4 separate regions of the Homo sapiens genome follow, and regions 2, 3 and 4 are each linked to region 1. The links are contacts of gene promoters, found by promoter capture Hi-C in blood cells and fetal thymus (Javierre and others, 2016). All regions are on one chromosome and are shown on one strand. Each heading gives the region's core, a stretch centred on a gene start or on the middle of the fragment in contact. The rest is flanking DNA. Distances are from core to core; before and after follow the strand shown. Region 1 holds the start of C2orf68 (chromosome 2 open reading frame 68). Region 2 has its middle 27 kb from the start of MIR6071. Region 3 has its middle 9.5 kb from the start of ATOH8. Region 4 overlaps ATOH8 (atonal bHLH transcription factor 8).

Region 1 (5,270 bases), core at 653-3,152:
GCCATCATGCCTGGCTAATTTTTGTATTTTTAGTAGAGATGGGGTTTCACCATGTTGTCCAGGTTAATTTCGAACTCCTGGCCTCAAGGGATCCGCCCACCTCGGCCTCCCAAACTGCTAGGATCACAGGCATGAATCACCGCGCCCGGACCAGTGTAAGCATTTGGTGTGCTGCCAATCAAGGACTTATTTACCTTTGCATCCCTGCTCTGAGGCCAGCACAATCCTGTCACACAGTAGGTACACAATGCACATTTGTCTAGCAAAAAGTACTGGAAAGCAGAAGGGTGGATAGAGCTCTGCCTGGGTTCAAATCCAGGCTCTGCCATTTACTAGCTGAGATCTTGGGCAAGTTGTTTAACCTCTCTGTGCCTGTTTCCTGACTGTGAAACAGACAGAAGCTTTCTTATGAGGTTGTATAAAGACTCAATGAATTAATATACGTAAGATCTAAAAGCACTTTCACTAATGCCTAACAAAGGTAGTGGCACACACCTATAATCCCAGCACTTTGGGAGGCCGATGCGGGCAGATCACCTGAGCTCAGGAGTTCGAGATCAGCCTGGACAACGTGGAGAAACCCCTTCTCTCTCTCTCTTTTTTTTTTTTTTTTGAGACCGAGTCTTGCTGTGTTGCCCAGGCTGGAGTGCAGTGGCGCGATCTCGGCTCACTGCAAGCTCCGCCTCCCGGGTTCACGCCATTCTCCTGCCTCAGCCTCCCGAGTAGCTGGGACTACAGGCGCCCACCACCACGCCCGGCTAATTTTTTGTATTTTTAGTAGAGACGGGGGTTTCACCATGTTAGCCAGGATGGTCTCGATCTCCTGACCTCGTGATCCGCCCGCCTCGGCCTCCCAAAGTGCTGGGATTACAGGCGAGAGCCACCGCGCCCAGCCGGGGAAACCCCTTCTCTACAAGAAATACCAAAATTAACCGGTGTGGTGGCACACGCCTGTGGTCCCAGGTACTCGGGAGGCTAAGGCTGCAGTAAGCCCAGATCGCACCATTGCACTCCAGCCTGGGCGACAGAGACCTAGTCTCAAAAATAAAATAAAAACATTTTAAAAAAAGTAATAATGCTTAACAAAAATTGACCGTCATATATTAACCAGTGTGATCTCTAGGTAGCAGAGAAGCTGGGGAAAGGCCATTTACTGGGTTCATTCCGCAATTATGTGCTGGTCGCTCATCGCTGTGCCAGACTTTCTCTTTGCTAGGTAGCGGAGCACCTTACTAAAATACAGCACGGTGGGGCAAACCGGCAGATAAACTTCTTGCTGGCTCCCCGATACTCTGACAGCGATGCTTAACTGGGGGCTTATGAGTCGTCCCAGTTCTTGGTGAGAATCATTCAGCGGAGATTTGGGAGCGCTGAGGTGGAGGTTCCGGAAAGAGACGAGATGAGCTGAACCTTAGGAGTAAGAAGTGGTTTTTCCCTATAGAGAAGGGGAGTGCGTTGCAGGAAGAGCGCGCGGGCTGGAGGCAGGCGGGGCGGGCGGCCTCACCTCGGTGTCGCGGCAGGTACACCTGCAGGTCTGGCTTGCGGGGCCGCGTCGGCGCGGGCGTGTGCCGCCTCCTCACCTTCTCCTTGGCCGCCTGCTTCACCTTCTTGTCATAGTCGTCCCTGCGGGGAGCCGAGCGGGAGTCAGGGACTGTCGGGCCGGGCCAGGCCAGGCCAGGAGTGGTGGCGGCGGCGGCGCAGGGCGGGGCGGTACCGAGCGATCTGGTTCCGTCGGATATGGTGCACGAAGCCGTGGTTCATGTCCAGCCGCCCCCCAGGCTTGCAGCAGTGCCCCGGCCGGGGATGCGGCCCCGCCTCCATCAGGAGCCGGGGACGCAGAGTCGCCGCCGCCTCGACGGCCCCAACAACAGCCACCCGCCCACAGAGCTCCGCGCCGCCCCTTGCTCAGCTTCCGGCCCCGCATCCTGACTTCCGGTCTGGGAGGCCCCGGCCTGGCCAAGCGATGCAGCGCACGGAGTTTTCGGGTCTGGTCGGGTCGGGTGGAGTAGGGTATGCTTGACTTCCACCCCCCGGACGGAGGGCTTTTGTTTTTGTTTTTTTTTGTTTGTTTTTTCGTAACATATCAATAGGAAACAAGGACTTCGGCTTACAGCTGATACCAGAACCTTCAGAAAAATGCAAATCATCTATAACACAACTCGATGCTTACGGCGGTGCCTTCCCATCTTTTTTCTGGTAATAGGATGCTGTGCAATCCATCGCCATCTGCGTGACTTTGGCTGACTGTGTAACGCTGCCACTTCTCAGTTTCCTCATTAGTAAATGGGAACACCTAGAGCACCTACCTCAAATGGATTGTGAGGCCTTGAAGTGCTCAGGCAGGGCAACAGCGGCGCCCAGGCCGCAGGCGCCGCGAAGGCTCTCCTGGCCCGGCTTGCCTCCTGCTCACGGCGCCGATGGCTTAACTGTCCCCGCGGGAGGACCCAGGGTTTTTGAGGGACCTACGGGTGTATTATTTTCTTTTTTATTTATTTTTCCTTTTTTTTTTCTTTTTGAGAAGGAGTCTCACTCTGTCGCTCAGGCTGGAGTGCATTGGCGTGATTTCGGCTCACTGCAACCTCCGCCTCCCGGGTTCAAGCGATTCTCCTGCCTCAGCCTCCCGAGTAGCTGGGACTACATGCGCGTGCCACCACGCCCGGCTAAGTTTTGTATTTTTGGTAGAGATAAGGTTTCACCACGTTGGCCAGGCTGGTCTCGAACTCCTGACCTCAGGTGATCCGCCTGCCTCGGCCTCCCAAAGTGTTGGGATTGCAGGCATGAGCCACCGTGCCCGGCCCCTTTTTTTTTTTTTTCTATTTTTTCTGACCACTGGGTTCACGTCACAGCGTGTAAAATTCTCAAGTCCTTTTACAAAAGTCAAAATCAGGAATTCATGATTAGGACAGGGACAAACGGCTGGATGCAGTGGCTCATGTCTGTAATTCCAAAACTTTGGGATGCCGAAGTGGGAGTATCGCTGGAGGGAGGAATTTGAGACCAGCCTGGGCAACACAGCGAGACATCGTCTCTACAAGAAAAAAATACATTAAAAAAGAAAGAAAGAGCCGGGCGTGGTGGCTCACGCCTGTAATCCCAGCACTTTGGGAGGCCCAGGCGGGCAGATCAAGAGGTCAGGAGTTCGAGACTAGCCTGGCCAAAATGGTGAAACCCCGTCTCTACTAAAAAAAAATACAAAAAATTAGCTGGGCTTGATGGCCGGTGCTTGTAATCCCAGCTACTTGGGAGGCTGAGGCAGGAGAATCGCTTGAACCCGGGAGGCGGAGGTTGCAGTCAGCCGAGATCGAGCCACTGCAGTCCAACCTCCAAATCAAAAAACAAAAAACAAAAACAAAAAACAGGGACCAATGGTGGTCCAGCCACACGATGGAATATTACTGAGCAATCCAAAGGAAGATCTGTAGCTCAACAACATGGATGGATCATAAAATAAATATGCCCAGTGAAAGAGGCCAGGGACTCTGTATGATTCCATTTATATGAGACTCTAGGAAGTGCAAACTAATCTATAGTGACCGAGAGATCAGTTGATTTTTGTGGGGGTTCTCTGGGAGGAAGAGGATATCTTTGGGGCTGGGTAGATTCTTTAAATTTTTTTTTATTTTTTTATTTTTTTGAGGCAGGATCTCACTGTCGCATAGGTTGGATTGTAGTGGTGCAATCACTGCTCACTGCAGCCTCCACCTCTCAGGCCCAAACGATCCTCCTGCCTCAGCCTCCTGAATAGCATGCCACCATGCCCAGCTAATTTTAAAATTTTTTTGTGGAGATGGGGGGGGTCTCTCTATGTTGCCAAGGCTAGTCTTGAACTCCTGACCTCAAGTGATCCTCCTGCCTCAGGCCTCCCAAAGTGCTGGGATTATAAGTGTGAGCCACCGTACTGGGCCCAGATCCCGTCTCTTGATTGTGGTGATGGCTTCATGGGTGTATATGTTACAGGAAAGGGATCCCTATTCAGACCCCAGCAGAGGGTTCTTGGATCTTGTGCAAGAAAGAATTCAGGGTGAGTCCACAGTGCAAAGTAAAAGCAAGTTTATTAAGAAAGTAAAGTAGCCAGGTGTCGCGGCTTATGCCTGTAATCCCTGCACTTTGGAAGGGGAGGCGGGCGGATCACTTGAGGTCAGCACTTCCATACCAGCCTGGCCAACATGGTGAAACTCTGTGCCTACTAAAAATACAAAAATTAGCCGGGCATGGTGGCAGGTGCATGTAATCCCAGCTACTCAGGAGTCTGAGGCAGGATAATCACTTGAACCCAGGAGGCAGAAGTTGCAGTGAGCCGAGATCTCACCAATGCACTCCAACCTGGGTGACAGAGCAAGACTCTGTATCAAAAAAATAAAATGTAAAGTAGTGAAAGTACAGCTACTCCATTGACAGAATAGGGCGTTCCTGAAAGTAAAAGGAGGAACGCATCCACCATGGCTACAATGCTTGTTTATATATAGGATAAAAAGATCATGGGGAGATGTGCTCTGCTACAAGGGTTTGTGATAAAGGATTAATTTTATTATTATATTTTGCAAGAAGAAATATTATCTTTAAAGCAAAATTAGGAATGCCTTTATTCTCCAGATATTGGGATATTAGGACACTCCCAAGTCTGGATCTGTTTAGTAAACATTATCTCTCTGTTCCCTTAACTGTAGACATCTCTAGGCTAGGAATACCTAACTTCCTGGGAATGCAGCCTGTCAAGGCCCAGCCTCATTTTCCTAACCCTCACTCAAGATGGAGTTGGTCTGGTTGAAACGCCTCTGACATATACCGCAAGTCAGAATTCAGTAAATTGCACACAGTGTGGTGTGGTGTGGTGTGGTGTGGTGTGGTGTGGTGTGGTGTGGTGTGGTGTGGGTATGACAGAGTTTCACTCTGGTTGCCCAGGCTGGAGTGCAATGGGGCGATCTCGGCTCATTGCAACCTCCGCCTCCCGGGTTCAAGCGATTCTCCTGCCTCAGCCTCCTAAGTAGCTGGGTTAACAGGCTCGTGCCACCACGCCCGGCTAATTTTTGTATTTTTAGTAGAGATGGGGTTTCACCATATTGGCCAGGCTGGTCTCCAGTCCTGACCTCAGGTGATCCGCCCGCCTTGGCCTCCCAAAGTGCTGGTATTATAGGCATGAGCCACAGCGCCTGGCCTAAATTGCACACTTTAAACATGTAGTTTGTTGTATGTCAATTATACCTCAATGGAACGGTTCAAACAAGCAAACAAGTTCAAGGCAGGTCCTGAGGTTAGAGCTTTATTAGCTT
Region 2 (4,727 bases), core at 116-2,615, 200 kb after region 1:
AAGCCCCACTGTGTTTCCCCACTCCCATTCCAGGCCTCTGCCTCAGTGGGTCCCAGTTCATCCCTGTCCATCCCAGAGGGGCCCTCTGAAGTAGATCCAGGCCCTGGGTGGGGGCAGTGGCTAGTGCTAAGCAGAGTGGGACGAGAGCACCATCACTGAGTTCCCTACTGACCGTTTCTGAGCTGAGCTGGCACAGAGGTCCTGGGAACAGAGGCTGTCTACAGCCTGGTATTCTGGTAGCACAGAAGGCTCCTGGAAAGCCATCTAACCCATCTTGCTGGTCTCTTCTTGTGGCACATGATAGTAAGCCATGAGGACTCTTGAGGACAGATGGGAAGGTCATATGAAAACTCCTAGCAAAGTGCATTTACCGTGGAACGAGGAGGACCTGGATTCTTCCAAAATCCAACTTGGTGATAAGCTGAGTCATGCGTGGTAACAAATGCCCCGACAAGTATAATTGCTTAAACACGAAGATGTATTTCTTGTTCACTCTGAATGTCCATCGTCAGTTCACAGGGGCTCTGCTCCATGTCTCTCCACTCTGGGATCCAGGCTGATGGAGCAGCCACCATTTCTAACTTGCTGCTTGCTATGAGAGAGGGAAAGAAGAGATCTGGAGGGTTTACTGTGGCATTTCCTTACTATTTATTTATTTATTTATTTTTTGAGACAGTCTCTTATTCACTCAATGGCCCAGGTTGGAGTGCAGTGACGTGATCTCAGCTCGCTGCAACATCTGTCTCTCATGTTCAAGAGATTCTCCTGCCTCAGCTTACAGAGTAGCTGGGATTATAGGCATGCACCACCATGCCCAGCTAATTTTTGTATTTTTAGTAGAAACGGGGTTTCATCATGTTGGCAGGCTGGTCTCAAACTCCTGGCCTCAAGTGATCCGCCCACCTCAGCCTCCCAAATTGTTGGGATCACAGGGGTGAGCCACTGTGTCCAGCCTCACTATGACATTTAAATGCCCTGATTTGGGAGAAACTCACATAATTTCTGCTCACAACAAATTGGCCAGGGCCAGTTTCATGGCCCTGCCCTACCACAGAGGGGCCCTGAGTGTGATCTTACCACGGGCCTGGAAGACAGAGAGTAGGGAATGCATTCATGACAACCACAGTGACCTTGGGAAAGTTGTCTTAGTTCTCTGGGCCTCCTTTTTTTCACCTGAAAGTAGTGTTCTTAAAGCAAAGACAGAGTGGTTAAAATGGCTCTTAGAATCCCTCCAGCCACTGGAGATAGCCATTGGCTAAAAATGAACCTCAAATTAACCTCATACCCCATACAAAAATTAACTCAAAATGGATCACAAACGTAAATGGACTTTACAAAACTATAAAACTTGAAAAAGCATAAGGGCAAATCTTTGGAATCTGGGGCTGGACAAAGGGTTTTTATTCCTGATACCAAAAGCATGATCCACAAAAGAAAATTGGTTCAACATGGATCATGAATTGATAACTTGGGCCTCATTAAAAAATCCTATATGAAAAACTTCTGCTCTGCAACAGATCCTGTTAACAGGGTCAAAGACAAATTACACAAAGCTACACATATAATAAAATTGCAAAGAGCAACACACACCCAGACACATACACACATACATGAGTGCACATATATCTGGTGAAATCCGGATACATTCTAAGGACTATACCAAGTTTCCTGGTTTTGATATGGTCCTATGGTAATTTATCAAGACATTGGCAGAGTCTGGGTGAAGGGTGCATGGAACCTTCCTGTACATTTCCTTGCACCTTTCTATGGATCTGTAATTACTACAAAATGAGACCAAAAGAATCCTGGCTGGGCACGGTGGCTCACACCTGTAATCCCAGCACTTTGGGAGGCAGAGGCGGATGGATCACTTGAGCTCAGGAGTTCGAGACCAGCCTGGACAACATAGTGAGTCTTCTTTTCTGCAAAAAATACAAAAATTAGCTGAGCATAGTGGTGTGCGCCTGTCCCAGCTCATCGGGAGGCTGAAGTGGGAGGATTGCTTGAGCCTGGGAACTTGAGGCTACAGTGAGCCATAATTGTGCCACTGCACTCTAACCTAGACAACAGACTGAGACCATGTCTCAAAAAAAAAAAAAAATCCCTTCAGCCACCCATAAAGAAATCTGCTTTGGGGATCATAAGCATTCGTATATTTAAACACCTAAGTCACTCTTAGTCCTGCAACATGTTCCCGATGGGCTGAGGGGCCAGCAGATCCCATCCCCCAGAGTGTCATTGCATGGAATACATGAAGAACCACCTGAATCACTGCCACTGACATTTCTCTGGCTCTGTCACTTTTATCGTTTACACTGGTCCACAGCTTTTTATCAGAAACCCTTGGGGCCAGGAAGTTTCAAAGATGTGTATTTTTTTTTAAAGGGGAGTTAGAAAAGTTGTCTAGGGTTGTGGTGTTTATTAGGTAACTCTCCCTCCCCCAACAGGATGTGGGGCAGACCCTGTCATCAAACACATTTAATGTAATTAATATTCACAAATGTAAGGTATAAATACTCCCAAGGAGTGAGATAAATACAGACTAAAATTATCTTGTGTCACTTCAAGTCACCAAATGAGTTCTGTTCAGGTCAGATTTAGCCCTAGACATTACACACGTGCTCACACGCATGCACGCACGGCTGGTTTTCCGAGCTTTTGGATCTGGGAATTGCAGAGCAGAGGCTGTGCAGCATGGCCGAATGTGCCTACCGTGACTCCTCGGGTGCCAGGCCCAGGCCTTGTCTGACCCATGGGTTGTGTGGACAAGAGGCCACTGCGCCTCAGGGTGCCAGGGATCCCAGGCTCCTGAGAGTGAGGGGCTCAGAGCTTCCCCAGCTGTCACCTTCACACCTGGCCACTTGCCCCTAGATCTGCTGGACCCTGAAACACACTCCTCCCGTTACTGGCTGGTTGTGGGTGTCGTGGTGTCACAGCCCCTGGAGAAAATCCCCCAACCCCCACCAACCTTTGTCCCCTCCAGAGAGCATGGGCACCTTATCTGCAGCCCAGGTGGCTCCTAATCTTCTTAGACTCCAAGGTGCTGGGTCTGGCAGGAGCCAGAGACGGAGCCCAGGCCCGCCCTGGTTTTACAGATGAGGGAACTGAGACCCAGAGAGAGTGAGTGAATTACCTAGACTCACACAGCAGGTCAGTCTGGGCACTGTACTGGATGATTCCTGGCAGGGAGAGGGGTGCTGGAGGCATGTTTAAAAATCAGGGACTGGAAGAGCCTCTCAGCCTCAGAGAAGACATCTGAAGCAGCCTCTGAGCCACACGGAGCACCCCCCGCCCCCACCCCAATGAAGTGGGAGAGGTTCCCAGGCGCAGGGGGAGGAAAGGGGTCATGCAACCACGTCCTTGCCTCCCGCCACGAGTGTACCCCGAGTCACCAGGTTTGCTCAGCCGCAGCAGGGCCAGCCCCGGCGGCTGGAAGGCGGCGGCTGGGCCTGGACGTGGGTGTGGGCGCCCCCGGCCTCCCCCCGCCCCCGCAGGCGCCCCCCACCCCCCTAGCAGGCGCCCCGGTCCCTGTGTGGGCTGCTTTGACTCAGCGCCGGGAGCCGAGCTTAGGCAAACCACGCCGCACTGGACGCCATTCAAGCTTTTACAGGCCCTCAAATTGGGGCTGGAGCCGGAGAGGAAATACTAAAATCCTGTGTACACAACTTCTGTCTGGGCGCGCCGGGGCTCTGGGAAAATCAGGCGCGGCGAGGGACACATTTGGACTGTTTAAGGGCTCCTTTTCCCTGCTCTGCTTTTAGCAGGCATCACGATGTGTCGCCTAAAACCAAGATTCCTGGGTGTGGGCGCAGGAGGGTCTGCGGAGTGTGTGAGCTGAGGCTCGGCGGGAGGAACTAAGCTTTTCTCCTGCCCCCACGTGCCAGGCACACATGCGCCCAAAGTTGGGTTCAGAAATCCCTGTGGTCCATAAACCACACACTCTGCATGGCCCAGGCCCCTTCCCCTGCAGAAAGATGCAGCTGTCGGATGCTGGATCCTCAGAGCCTGGGCTTGGGAGTTAGGCAGGCCTGGGTGGGAACCCGGCTCCCCACTTGGCAGCACTATGACTGTACTGTGGGCAAGGGCCTCTATTTCCTCATCTGTAAAATGGGCGTGATCATGGTAAGTTACCTTGGAGGTTAAAGACATGATGTAGGTGGGGAACTAGCTCAGAGCCTGGCACATAGTAGGTGCTCCCTAAGTGGTAGCTGTTAGTATTTATATGGATTAATAGTGATAGCATCATGTTGAGCCTGGCACATGCTAAGTGCTGCCTACAAATCAATTCATTTAATCCTCACAGCAGCCCCATGGGATAATACTGTAACCCCATTTTAAGGGCAGAAACTAGGTCAATTCATTGACCTACCCAAGGTCACAAAGCTGGTGACTGGCCGGCCAGTCAACTGAACAAATGAACAGTTGAACCCAGGCCATCATTTTCATAGTGCAGATGATTTGCCACACTCTGAACTGTAACAGAGGAGGAGCTGGTGGTGGCCAGAGCTGCTGATGAGCTGTGTGTCCATGGCATCCTCAGCCTGGCACCGAGCCCCCCACACCTGGGCCTCATCCCACTGTCCCAGTTCCAGCTCTGCCAAGTGCCCTCAAGCACTTCCCACCTTGGCCCACCAAGAGCCCGAGCTGCCCCCTCCTACCTCTCGGCCTTGGCTCAGCCTCTCCCCCACCCCCAAGCTCGCTGGCTGCCTGCCTGTGCATCAGGCCAC
Region 3 (5,215 bases), core at 266-2,765, 130 kb after region 1:
CCACCTCTTCCCCATGGACTGAGCCCCAGCTGGGGGCTGACCTTCGGCATCAAACGCCTGGCCCTTGACTCACAGCTCCCCTGTTCTGACACCCGGCCTTTGCCTGACCCCATGGGCAGGCCTGGGCGCCAGCCTTGCCCCCCCTGGCTGGCCCGTCCCCCTGCCGCCTGAGCCTGGGTTATGACATCTTTCCACTGAGCAGCTCTTATTTTGAGAAGGCAAACACGGCGGCGCCCACAGGCATGTGCACACGCCAGCACACGCACACACATACCCTGTCCATCCCCGGACTCCTCGCGCACTGGGGTTAAAATGTGGCTGGCCATGTTTATTTTTCTTCCTCTAATTTCCCCTTTGGAACAAACAACAGTCCTGTAACCCCGATCACCCTCCCCTTTCAGATCTGTGGTCTCCCACCACCCTTCTCCCGGGTCCTCCCCTCGCAGCTGTGAATGAGAACAGAGTAAGTCTTTTAGCGGGAGGCAGCAGCCTGAATGAATTGATCACAGCCTCAAAGCCAGCAGGATGGGGGGATGGTGAGCATGTGTGTTTGCTTCTTAAACGCTATTTGTACACCCTGAAGCTTCTATTTTTCCATGTGACTTGGAGCAAATGCCTTCCCCCAGCCCTCCATCCTTTTAAAATTTATTTCATTTCATTTTTGGTCCAATGCATTTTGTTTTCTGTTTTCTACAAGGGAGCCCGAATCAGGGCCTCAGAAAAACAAGGCCGAGCTGCCAACTGGAAATGTTTGCTCTGGGGGCGAGTTCGGAGGCTGGCGTCAGGCGGGGCAAGATCCGTGCCAGTGGAATGTGATTTGGGGAGGAAGCTGCAGGTCACTCAATCGCTGGCAGCCAGCCCGGGAGCAACTGGATGCTTTCTGGGCTGTGTGTGTGTGTGTGTGTGTGTGTGTGTGTGTGTGTGTGTGTGTATGTAGAGTTTTTTCCCTCATGCAAACAGAGCTCTGGAGACATGGAGACAGAAGCATTAGGAACAAATGAGACAGGGGGTTGGAAAATCAGGGGATCTGGGGGAATAAGGTGGGCTGGGGCGGGGAGAGGGTGCCAGGAGCTTGAGCAGCCATGTTATTCAGCATGTGCTGTGTGTTCAGCTCTGAGCTGGGAGCCTGCAGGAGCAAGGAGGGCTGCAAACCACATCAGCCCCCAGTGATCTGTGGGTTCTTTGGAGAAACAAGGCTTTCAGTATAGAACACTGGCAGGTGAGCCTGGAAGTTCCCAAGAGCGGAGTGTGTTCCTCTGGGCTGAGTGTGTCCAGGGAAGGCTTCCTGAAGGAGGTGTGGTAGGATCAGAGCCCTGAAGCATGTATGGTACTGCACTGAGAGGAGAGGAGAGACGTTCAAGGTGCAGTTATTAGCTGCCATCTGCCAAGCCCTGTGCTCAGCCCTTTACATTGATAATCTCCCTTTAATCCTCACAACAACCCTATGAGGGCCAGTAATCTTTCTATCCTAGCTTTGCAAACAAGGAAACTGAGGCCCGGTGAGATCAAGGAACTCAGCCAAACTCCCAGCTTGTAGGTGGTGAGCCAAGGGTCAATTCGGGACCATCCTTGTCCAAAGCCTGGGCTCTGTCCACCACCGCTGAGGGCCACTTTTCACTTAGCCGAGTTCCTTGTGGAAGGGCTTGTTTTCCCTGCCCCACTCAAAAGAGGATTGTTGAATTCAAGATGGGGAATGTTGGGGACCTAAGATGCCAGGGTAGACTTCCAGGGGGCAGTGTGACAAACGCTCCGAAGCCAGAGAGATAAACTACCTTGTTTCCTTGTTCCCAGGAGGTAGTGGCTGGGCCCCTTGGCAGTCCCCCCAGGGTTCATATCAGGTCAGCCCTCTCCTGCAGCCTACCCCCCTTACCAATGACCCACGCCACCCTCACACTCCCCCACACACCCCCATCACATGTCAAGTTCTTTGCCACCCCAAAGTGAAGGTCCGCCCACTTCCAGGAGTCCTCAGAAGTTATCTGTGTTGTTCTGAGTCACGCACGAAACTCAGTGAACCAGACAGAATGGATTTTCCCCAGGCAGCCACCACAACCCTGGAGTTGGAATCAGGAGACCTGAGCCAACTGAGTGGGGGGCAATTGGTTAAAGTCAACAGTCTACCTCCTGTGTGATATCAAGTGAGCCATGTCCATTCTTGAGCCTCAGTTTCCTCAGTTTTAAAATGAGGAGTGGCCTGAATGGTTTTTGAGCTGTCACAGATGGAAGGAGAGGCTCTAAGGCAGTGGAACTATCTGCAGGTGTTGGAAGGGTCAGTCAGGAAGACTTTCTCGAGGTGTTCAGCCCACTGCAGAAGGATTCTCTGGCAGAGGAAGCAGGATCTGTCACGGGCTCAAAAGGGGAAAGGAAAGAAGCCAGGCTGGAAGGGCAGGAGGAGATGATGGTGAGGGAGGTAGAGTCCTGGCCAGGGTGGCTAGAACACCTTGACTCAAGCTTGTCTGGTAGTAATCAGACGGCCAGTGATCCATCTGATTAGAACAACTTTGTTGACCACTTGGGAGTTCTATTGTCTTGAGCTCAGATAGTTGGTTAGCCTCCCCCATGAACTCTTTTTGGCCAAACTGAGCACTAACGTTAGGTAGACACTGGCTTGGGGCTTACCTGGGCCTGATACATCACCTACATTGGTTGAACTGACCAGTCGATTCCACGAGACAACTAATTTTACCGATTATTTCCAGGAAACAGGCAGTTTATAGCATTAACTAAAATCAGCAGTTGTTCTGGCTTTTTGGAGACAGTCTTTGGATCTGACATCTTCAGTCCTCAGAGACATTCAGGCTACCTGCCACTGACCAACAGTAGTCAGATTCCTGAGAAGGCTGGGAAAAACCCTACCAACAACGGGCGTCAGGACTCAGTCTCTCTCATCAAAAAAAAAAAAAAAAAAAAAAAAAGGCAGGATCGAACTAGACCAGGAGTGGCAAACACATGGTGTGAATCCTGCCACTCCTTTTCTTTCATCCATGGCAGACATTGCTAATCAATTATAGCACTCATTCCCAAAGGGACCCAGATGCAGCCTCAGGATCCTTTTCAACACAGAGCTTCAGGCAGCCTCTACCAATCAATTAGATTTGGCATGCGTGATAAAAAGCATTTGTCCTCTGGACTAGATGATCTCCAAGCCTCCCTCCAGCTGTGCTGATCTAGAATTGCAACTGATTAGGCATCTTGAGGACTCAGCCTGGGGACCACCAGGTCTACAGCTGTCCCTGGGGCATCCAGGTCTGTGGGGCTGCCCTCGAGCTGGTGCCTTATTAATTTTCCTCACTGCTAATAAATGTGCATTGCGTCAGCTCTGTTCTGCCCCCTCATGTTCTCTGGCTGCTGCCATCAGTGGGGACTTTTTCAGAGAGCTGCAAAAATAGTTTTTTGTTGTTGTTGTTTGAGGAGCCTACACAGAAGCAGCAGCCAAGGCTTTTTTGCTTCCTTTCTTTTCTGAGGGAATGGGGAAATGCGGAGGGAAGACCTCACAATGAAGGAATGTGCTCCTTGGGGAACTGAAAGTTGTTTTCCTTAAAGAAGAAGAAGATGAAGAAGAAGTCAGCACACTCTAACTTCACATCTAGCCGCAAAGCACATCTGCAGGGATTGCTAACAGCTCCCAGGAGATCGCTGGCTCAAGCCAAGCCTGGTTAGGCTGTTGACAACTAGGTCCTGATGAGCAGAGCCCTAATGAGCAGCTTGCTCACTGTCTGCCCTCCCGGCTCATCCCTCGTTGATGTTCATTGGGCTCATCGAGGCCCTGGGAGACAGTTTTTCTTGCCTGCGATGGATGTTAGGCATGCAGGGGAGCTCACTTTCTCACGGGTGAATGTTTCACTTTTCCCCACTGCTGTGCTCTGGGGTTTTTAAGAGGCTTAAGACAAATCCTAAGACACTAGGGATGGGAAGAGCTTGAGATCTGTGGGTTCCAGCTCCCCCTCTCTTTTCTCCGTTTACAGATGAAGAGGCTGAGGCTTGCGGTGGGGCGGGAGGGGGAAGATAGAGGACAGGGGAGGCAGATGCCGAAGGGTACCGAGCTGGTCCTGGGAAGAGAATGCATCTCTCAACTTCCAGACCACTAAGTCAGAGGTGCAGAAAACTCAGAGAGTGTCCAGCCCAGAGCTTCTTGAACTTGAGTAACATATGCCCTCGTCCCAAAAGGAAACACATTGTCCCAGAACCCTAAGATCAGAATTATGCTCTTGTACTTTATGTTTTTAATTCTTATATAACTATAAGCCCAAAACAAATTAATAAATGAATACAAGCAAAACTACAAAGGTGATCAAAATTCACTTTAACAAACAGGTTAATATGATGAATAATATTGTTTTGCAGAAACAGAATCTCACAGGGCACAGGAGAGGAGCAGAGCACCAGCAGGGGACCCTAACCTTCTTCCTGCATCCATCAGAGCCTTCAGAATGAAGAATCTGGGGGACAGGAGGATGTCAGGGGGAGGGAAGAGGAGCAAGAGAAGGCAGGGACAAGTCAGATGCCAGGCAGAGGAAGCCGAGAGCCTGGAGACTTGGCTGCTCCAAGGCAGCGCACTTATCCTCTTGGGGCCGACCATGTTTCTTCCTTAGGCAGGGCTCCTTGAGGCTGAAATCATCCCTAACAGACCCTCAACGGTCAGGACAGTGTCATGTCACCTGCCAGTGGGAACCTCACTGGGCTCTGCCCACACCCAAGCACTGCTCCTACCTGCCACTTCCTGTCTCCTTCAAGTGGGGACACAGAACAAGCACACTGCACAAGTAAAGCATAGAGCATGTCATAAGGTGAAATGGCTGGTGGCTCCAGCTGGAAACGGGTGGTAAGGGGAGGCCTCAGTGACCAAGTGACATAATGGCAAAGGTTTGGAGGAGGAGAGGAAGCAAGCCATAGGCATTTCTCAGGGAGGTGGTCTGCCCGGCCAAATCCCACCATCTTTCCAGCCTGGTTTAAATGCCTCTTCTTCCAGGAAGTCCCCCAGAGCTGTTTGGCTACACTCTGAATTCCTACAGCTTTTTCCTTAGTGTCTATCACTTCGTACTGGTTCAGACTTGCATTATCTTTCCTACTGGACTCGGAGTTCCTTGAGGTGGGCACTGTGTCTCCTCTTACTAGAATGTCAGCTCCACAGGGTAGAGGTTTTGCTCTATTCACTGCTGCATAACCCCAGGCTTAGCAGGTGCTCTACAGAGGGTAGCGAAGGCTTATGGTGGAT
Region 4 (5,172 bases), core at 2,170-4,669, 180 kb after region 1:
GAGATCCCTCAGAGGGGTGGCCCTGGGGATTGTGGTGTCAGCCCCAGGTGTCCCCGAGCTTCCAGCGGCCCTGGCTCCCACTACCCACTGTGGTCCTCTTCTTTCCCCAAACCAACCAAAACGCAGGGCCTCTGAAATGCAGCACTAAGGAACAGGGGGACAGTGTGGGCTCTGGAGGCAGCCAGGCCGGGGTTTGAATCCTGGCTCTTCCACTTATCGAACCCTTCAAGGTGGGGGCCCCTCTGCCTGGAGGACTCAGTGAAGGGACATTCTGCAGCTGTCCAGAAACAGGAACCAGGTGGAGCAGGGGCAGCTTTTAATGGCTGGTCATGTCTTTCAGGAGTGACTGGCTGCAGGCAAGACCAAGGCCACCACTGTGGGCCCTCCTTCCAGTCAGGCCTGAGGACAAGGTGAGCTCGCTGAGTCCAGCCTCGTGGTCTTCTCCAAGATGCCGCCAGATGCCCAGCCTACAGCCTCTCAGGGTCGGATCGGAGCACGCCTGCCTCCCTCTCCCCTCCGCCCTCACCCAGCCAATCCGAGGCTGCTTCGCACTTTGCCCTCTGCCTGGTGGGGAGGGGAGAGCTCAGCCCCCGACTCACTCAGACCCCAAGGCCCACTGTCCAGCTGCAGAAATTCGTTGCCAAAGATTGGACAGAGACACCGAAGGAAATGGGGTGGTGAAACCCCACAGCGAAAAGCCACACCGTTGCTCTGTGACTTTTGCTCCTCCTGTTGCCTGAGCCCCATCTCAAGCCAAAGATGAGTCAGTGGTTCTGCTAGGAACTCATGGAATGGATGGGCATTTGATGACCCCTGGGGGTCATCTTGGCCCTCTGACCTGGTGCTCTCTCTCCACTGGGCCTTGTGCTGGCTGAGTGCAAGACAAGCCTTAGGGGCTGTGAGAGGGAGGCTGGGGTGCCTGGGCGGGGCTGGGAGTGGGACCTGAGATCCCTGCCCACTCTCTCCCCTTCATTGGCTGCCCAGGCCACTGGCCCCAGTTCTCAGTGTCCCTTGGGTCCAGGCTCCTTGGGCCCTAAGCATCACCAGAAGGGAGTAAGCAGGGAGAGAAGCAATATTACTCCCTCCCCTACACCAGGGACTTGCCCCAGGGCAGCTACCTATGGGTCTTTGCTTCCCCAGCCAGCCTCTCCTCACTGTGACCCACCCCCATGGGCCCCCGTCCCAGGCAGCCAGCACCATGGGCAGGCCCTGCCATGGACAGAAAAAGAGTTTTTCTCTTGTTCAGCCTGCACGTGGCCTGAGGAAGGAGTAGAGGCTGGGTTGGCTGGAGCCGTCCTACTGGGCAAGATGGCGCCCCACTTGGAGGGCGGTGGTCTGTTACAGGGTGTGCAGGGGCAGAGAAGGAAGGGACCAGGGGACTGGGCCAGTATGTGGAGGATGGGGCCTGCGTGTTCAAAGCCAAGGCCCGCCCCTTCCTTGTGCTCAAATGGCCAAAGCTGTTCACGTCTGTGCTCAACCATCTGCTTCAAATTGAAGTAAAAGCCCCAAAATGTCAAGAAAATACTTGTGTTGAGTGGACTCTGTGGGTGACCAGGACTTTGGCCGGTCATCAGCTGGGGAGTGTGAGGGAGGGGGTTGGTTTCTACCTACAGGTTGAGAGCCCTTCAGGATCAGGCGCTGTCCGAGTGAGAGTGTGTGTGTCTGTGTGTGGAAGGGGGTGGAGGGCGGTTCCCACAGTAGTCTCAGCCTGGACTAGTGACCAGGAGGCCTGGTCAGGAACACATGAGGAGCCCTCTCTGTCCGCACTGCACTCAATCTGTACCATGGATTTATGAGATAGGGGCCCCTATTATTAACCCCGTTTCACAGATGGGGTAACTGAGGCCTCAAGTAGACAGGGTCAGTCGGTGACAGAGCCAGTCATCGAATCAGGATGGGCTCACTTCAAATCCTGTGCTCTCAAACCTTTTCCAGCCCCATCACCAGTCCCAGCCCAAAGTCTCTTGTGTGGCCTTGTCACATTGCTTCACCTCAGCGGGCCTAAGGTAGGGACAATAAAGGCCCATTGGGACTGGGGGAAGGGGTGATAAGATAAAAAATAGGAGAGCACTGTCAAGGCAGAAGGGACAGGGCTGGCCAAGGAAAGGGGGATAGGAGGGGACCGGAGGCTGCAGCCATACAGGACACAGTTTGTCCCTTGGTTTCACCAGTGTCACTTTCTCGTCTCTGCTGCTCAGACTCCTGGGCTGGGCTGGGGCTGGCTGCAGGGAGCCCCCCTTGCAGTAGCGTTTCTCAGGCTGGCCCTTTACCAAGGACCACAGTGTCCATGCTGTCTTGGATCCCTAGGCTGGCACAGAAACAGGGGACCCAGGTGGCCCTGAGCACTCCTCAGAGCAAAGGTGCTCTGGAAGCAGACTGGACAGAGTGGGCATGGAATGGGGCCAGGAGGGTCTGTTAGGAAGGTTCAGCCACCCTGTGAAGCTGGCACAGATAACAGCACTGCTCTGTTGTCCCTCGGAGCCTCTGAGTAACCCTGATGGCACTTCCTAAGGCAGCAGGACATGTGGACTGACCAGCATCAAACTGTTGACATAGAAGACCATTTCTATTACCAAAGGGAGTGTACCCCATTCTGCTGCCAAGGGAGCAAACCCATGGCCTTACCACCCAGAAAGAGCCCATCCTCCACCTCCCATCCCCCTCCTGCATACATACTTCATTACATGTTTCCCTTTCATTCTGAAGCATCATTGATGACCAGCTGCCTGTCAGACACTAAGATAGGCAGTGGGAATGAAGAGATGGATCTTGTGTCATGCATGGCATCACGGAGCTCTGGGTTCTGTACGGAGGGTGGGACAGACAGGTAGACAAGCAAATAATTATGATTATAGCAGATGACTAAGGTGTTGTCGGGAGCTTCAGGAAAGGAAGAACTAACTCTTGGGGAGGTTCTCAGGAAGGATTTCCCTGGAAAGTAGCCATGGGACTTGCGTCTTAAATGGTGAGTAAAAGCTTTCTGAGCAGGGGAGTAGGAAAAGGGCTTTCTATGCAGAGGAGCACTCAGCGCTGGCAGGAAATTGGAATCACCCAAGGAGATTATTAAATATTAAATATTGATATGAAGTATTGATGCCCAATTTCATCTCCAGAAATTCTGATGTATTGGTCTAGGGTGTTGCCTGGTCATTGGGATTTTTACAAGCTCCTCAAGTGATCTTAATGTGCAGGCAAGGTTGAAGCCGCTGGTCTAAGTGGGGTCTGGTCTACGATAAGAAAGTGACTTTGAGCCATCGATTTGGGAGACAGGCTCTGGGTGGATGTGTGTGTGTGCACACATATGTATGTATGTGGATGACTAAAAGTGCATGCTCTCCTCTCCTTTCCCAGCTTCCTCTCCAGCACAGCAACTTGTGTTCGTATGCACACACATGCATACTCTCTCTCATGGGCACATGCATACCCACACACACACTCGTGTACATTTCCAGAAAATGGAATTACATTTCAGATAGATTCAGATTCCAACGGCAGTCTTCTAAACACTTTTATGCAAGCAGCCATTCAAGGAGACCCTCAGCAAAATATAAATGACGAGGAGCTGCCCTCATGGGGCCCTGTGAAAGCACTTTGCAGTCCAGCCTTGGGTTTGTGGTCACAGAGTCACCTGTGGATGTTTGTAGCACACTCTCCTTGTCTTGTCTGCTCTGGGTCACCAGGCACAGGCCATAAAGGGATGAGGGGGCCCTCTCCAGGGACCCGCAAGATCTTCCTGGGTATGTCTGCATGAAGCCCCACGTGTGCACACCCATCTTCATGTGTGTGTGTGCCAGCCTCCTGCTCTCTGCAGAACAAAACCAGAAGGAATGGCTCTGGGAGTTGGAGATCTCAGCTCACAGGCCAAGCTTTGCAAGACTCTCCAAAGACTGCCCACAGACTGTGCTGCTTCCTGGGTCTGGCCTGAGACTATCCCAGAAGAGAGGGTTAAATTCTGGAGGTGAGGTTTTGAGCAAGTGTTCATCCCCCCACACTATGCTCCTTCCTGTCTCCATGGCCACATCCTTCAAGGCTCTGTGCTGTTCTCTTTTTTTCTGGATTTCTCCACCTCCACCAAGTTCCCCTTTCTCACAGCTAGTGGAGGCATGAGTAGGCAGGTCCCAGGGGCTGGGAACTGGGTAGCATTGCCATGTGCAGGGACTGTGTTGGGAGCTGCAGGTACAGAGCTCCTCTGTGCTCAAGAGCTTGCCGGTGAGCCTGGACGGAGGCATAGGTGCAGCTAATTAGGATAAGACAGGGGCCGCGCTGTGGTCAGCCGTGGGAAGCCGGCGAGGGGACTGGAGTTGGGGCTACACTTGCCTCCCTCCTATGCTGCTTCCTGAGCCACGAAGTGGTCATTGCCAGCATCCCAGGCAACAAACAGCAAGACTCAGACATCTCCAAGGAAACCCTTTGAGTGGATCTGTACCGTTGTTCTCGTCTTGCTCTCTTGCTGCCCTGCCACCTTCACAGCTGCTTTCTGTTTCCTGGTTCCAGGAAGACAGCGGGGCACAGGGTCCCTGCTTTGTGAGGAGCAGCTGGCTTCTCCCTTTGCCCCCAGGTTTTGCCCTCCCACATGTCTCCCTTCTGGTGACCCGGACCCCAGACAAACTATGCCTGCCTCCCTGAAGCCAGGCATCCTGAGGAACTTGATAGACAAACAATGACAGTGTTTTCCAGAACTGTGGGTACGTGTCTAATCTCAGATGGTACTATGAATTCCTGGAGATCAAAGTTTGGATCTAATTCAACCCCTGATCCTCGAAACGGCTTTCTTGCAAAGTGTATATATTGGTTTCTTTGCTGAATGAATGAATAAAACATGGAAAATGTGGTAATTCACTCATTTTTGTTTTCTTCCTTCCACAAATAACTCCCAAGCATCTAATTTGTTCAAGACCTGGGGAAAACAGGACCCAGGCCAGGTGATCTTTTATATGGCTTCGGAGAGGCTTGAAGGGAGAGGGGCTTAGAGCCGAGAGAAGCCTGGCCTTGGACCTTTTTGCTCTTTATGTGGCCGAGTCTTTGAGAACTGAGCGAAGAGGACAGCATCACAGCACACGTGCTGGCACACAGGCACTGAATGAACAGTTACTGAATGTGTAGATGAGTGAATGAATGCCGCCAAGCCTCCTTACAGCCCTGCCTCGGACATCACTAATCAACAGTGGCTCT

The links. The method cuts DNA at HindIII sites, captures the fragments that hold promoters and counts their contacts. A CHiCAGO score of 5 or more calls a contact.
Region 2: a fragment that was not itself captured here is called in contact with the fragment with the promoter of C2orf68 in region 1 in 3 of 17 cell types (monocytes, erythroblasts and M0 macrophages); the score reaches 12.5 in monocytes.
Region 3: a contact is called between a fragment that was not itself captured here and the fragment with the promoter of C2orf68 in region 1, in 1 of 17 cell types (monocytes). The highest score is 5.0, in monocytes.
Region 4: a fragment that was not itself captured here is called in contact with the fragment with the promoter of C2orf68 in region 1 in 1 of 17 cell types (monocytes); the score reaches 6.6 in monocytes.

The regions. Positions count from the first base shown.
Region 1 is chr2:85,610,164-85,615,433 of GRCh38, forward strand. It overlaps C2orf68 (chromosome 2 open reading frame 68), which reads right to left and starts at 1,903. Exons shown (of 4, transcript NM_001013649.4): 1 at 1,715-1,903; 2 at 1,505-1,623. The coding sequence starts at 1,821. It also overlaps a transcript of USP39 not described here. RefSeq lists silencers at 1,674-2,055, 1,675-1,744, 2,231-2,403 and an enhancer at 2,015-2,244. The HindIII fragment of the contact is 26,854 bases long and covers 400-5,270 here.
Region 2 is chr2:85,807,834-85,812,560 of GRCh38, forward strand. No RefSeq gene overlaps it. Among named protein-coding and RNA genes, the nearest start is that of MIR6071, 27 kb to the left of the region's middle. The HindIII fragment of the contact is 4,468 bases long and covers 1-3,599 here.
Region 3 is chr2:85,741,835-85,747,049 of GRCh38, forward strand. No RefSeq gene overlaps it. Among named protein-coding and RNA genes, the nearest start is that of ATOH8, 9.5 kb to the right of the region's middle. The HindIII fragment of the contact is 1,868 bases long and covers 582-2,449 here.
Region 4 is chr2:85,786,545-85,791,716 of GRCh38, forward strand. It overlaps ATOH8 (atonal bHLH transcription factor 8), which reads left to right. Exons shown (of 3, transcript NM_032827.7): 3 at 341-4,839. The coding sequence ends at 346. Among named protein-coding and RNA genes, the nearest start is that of MIR6071, 5.5 kb to the left of the region's middle. The HindIII fragment of the contact is 890 bases long and covers 2,975-3,864 here.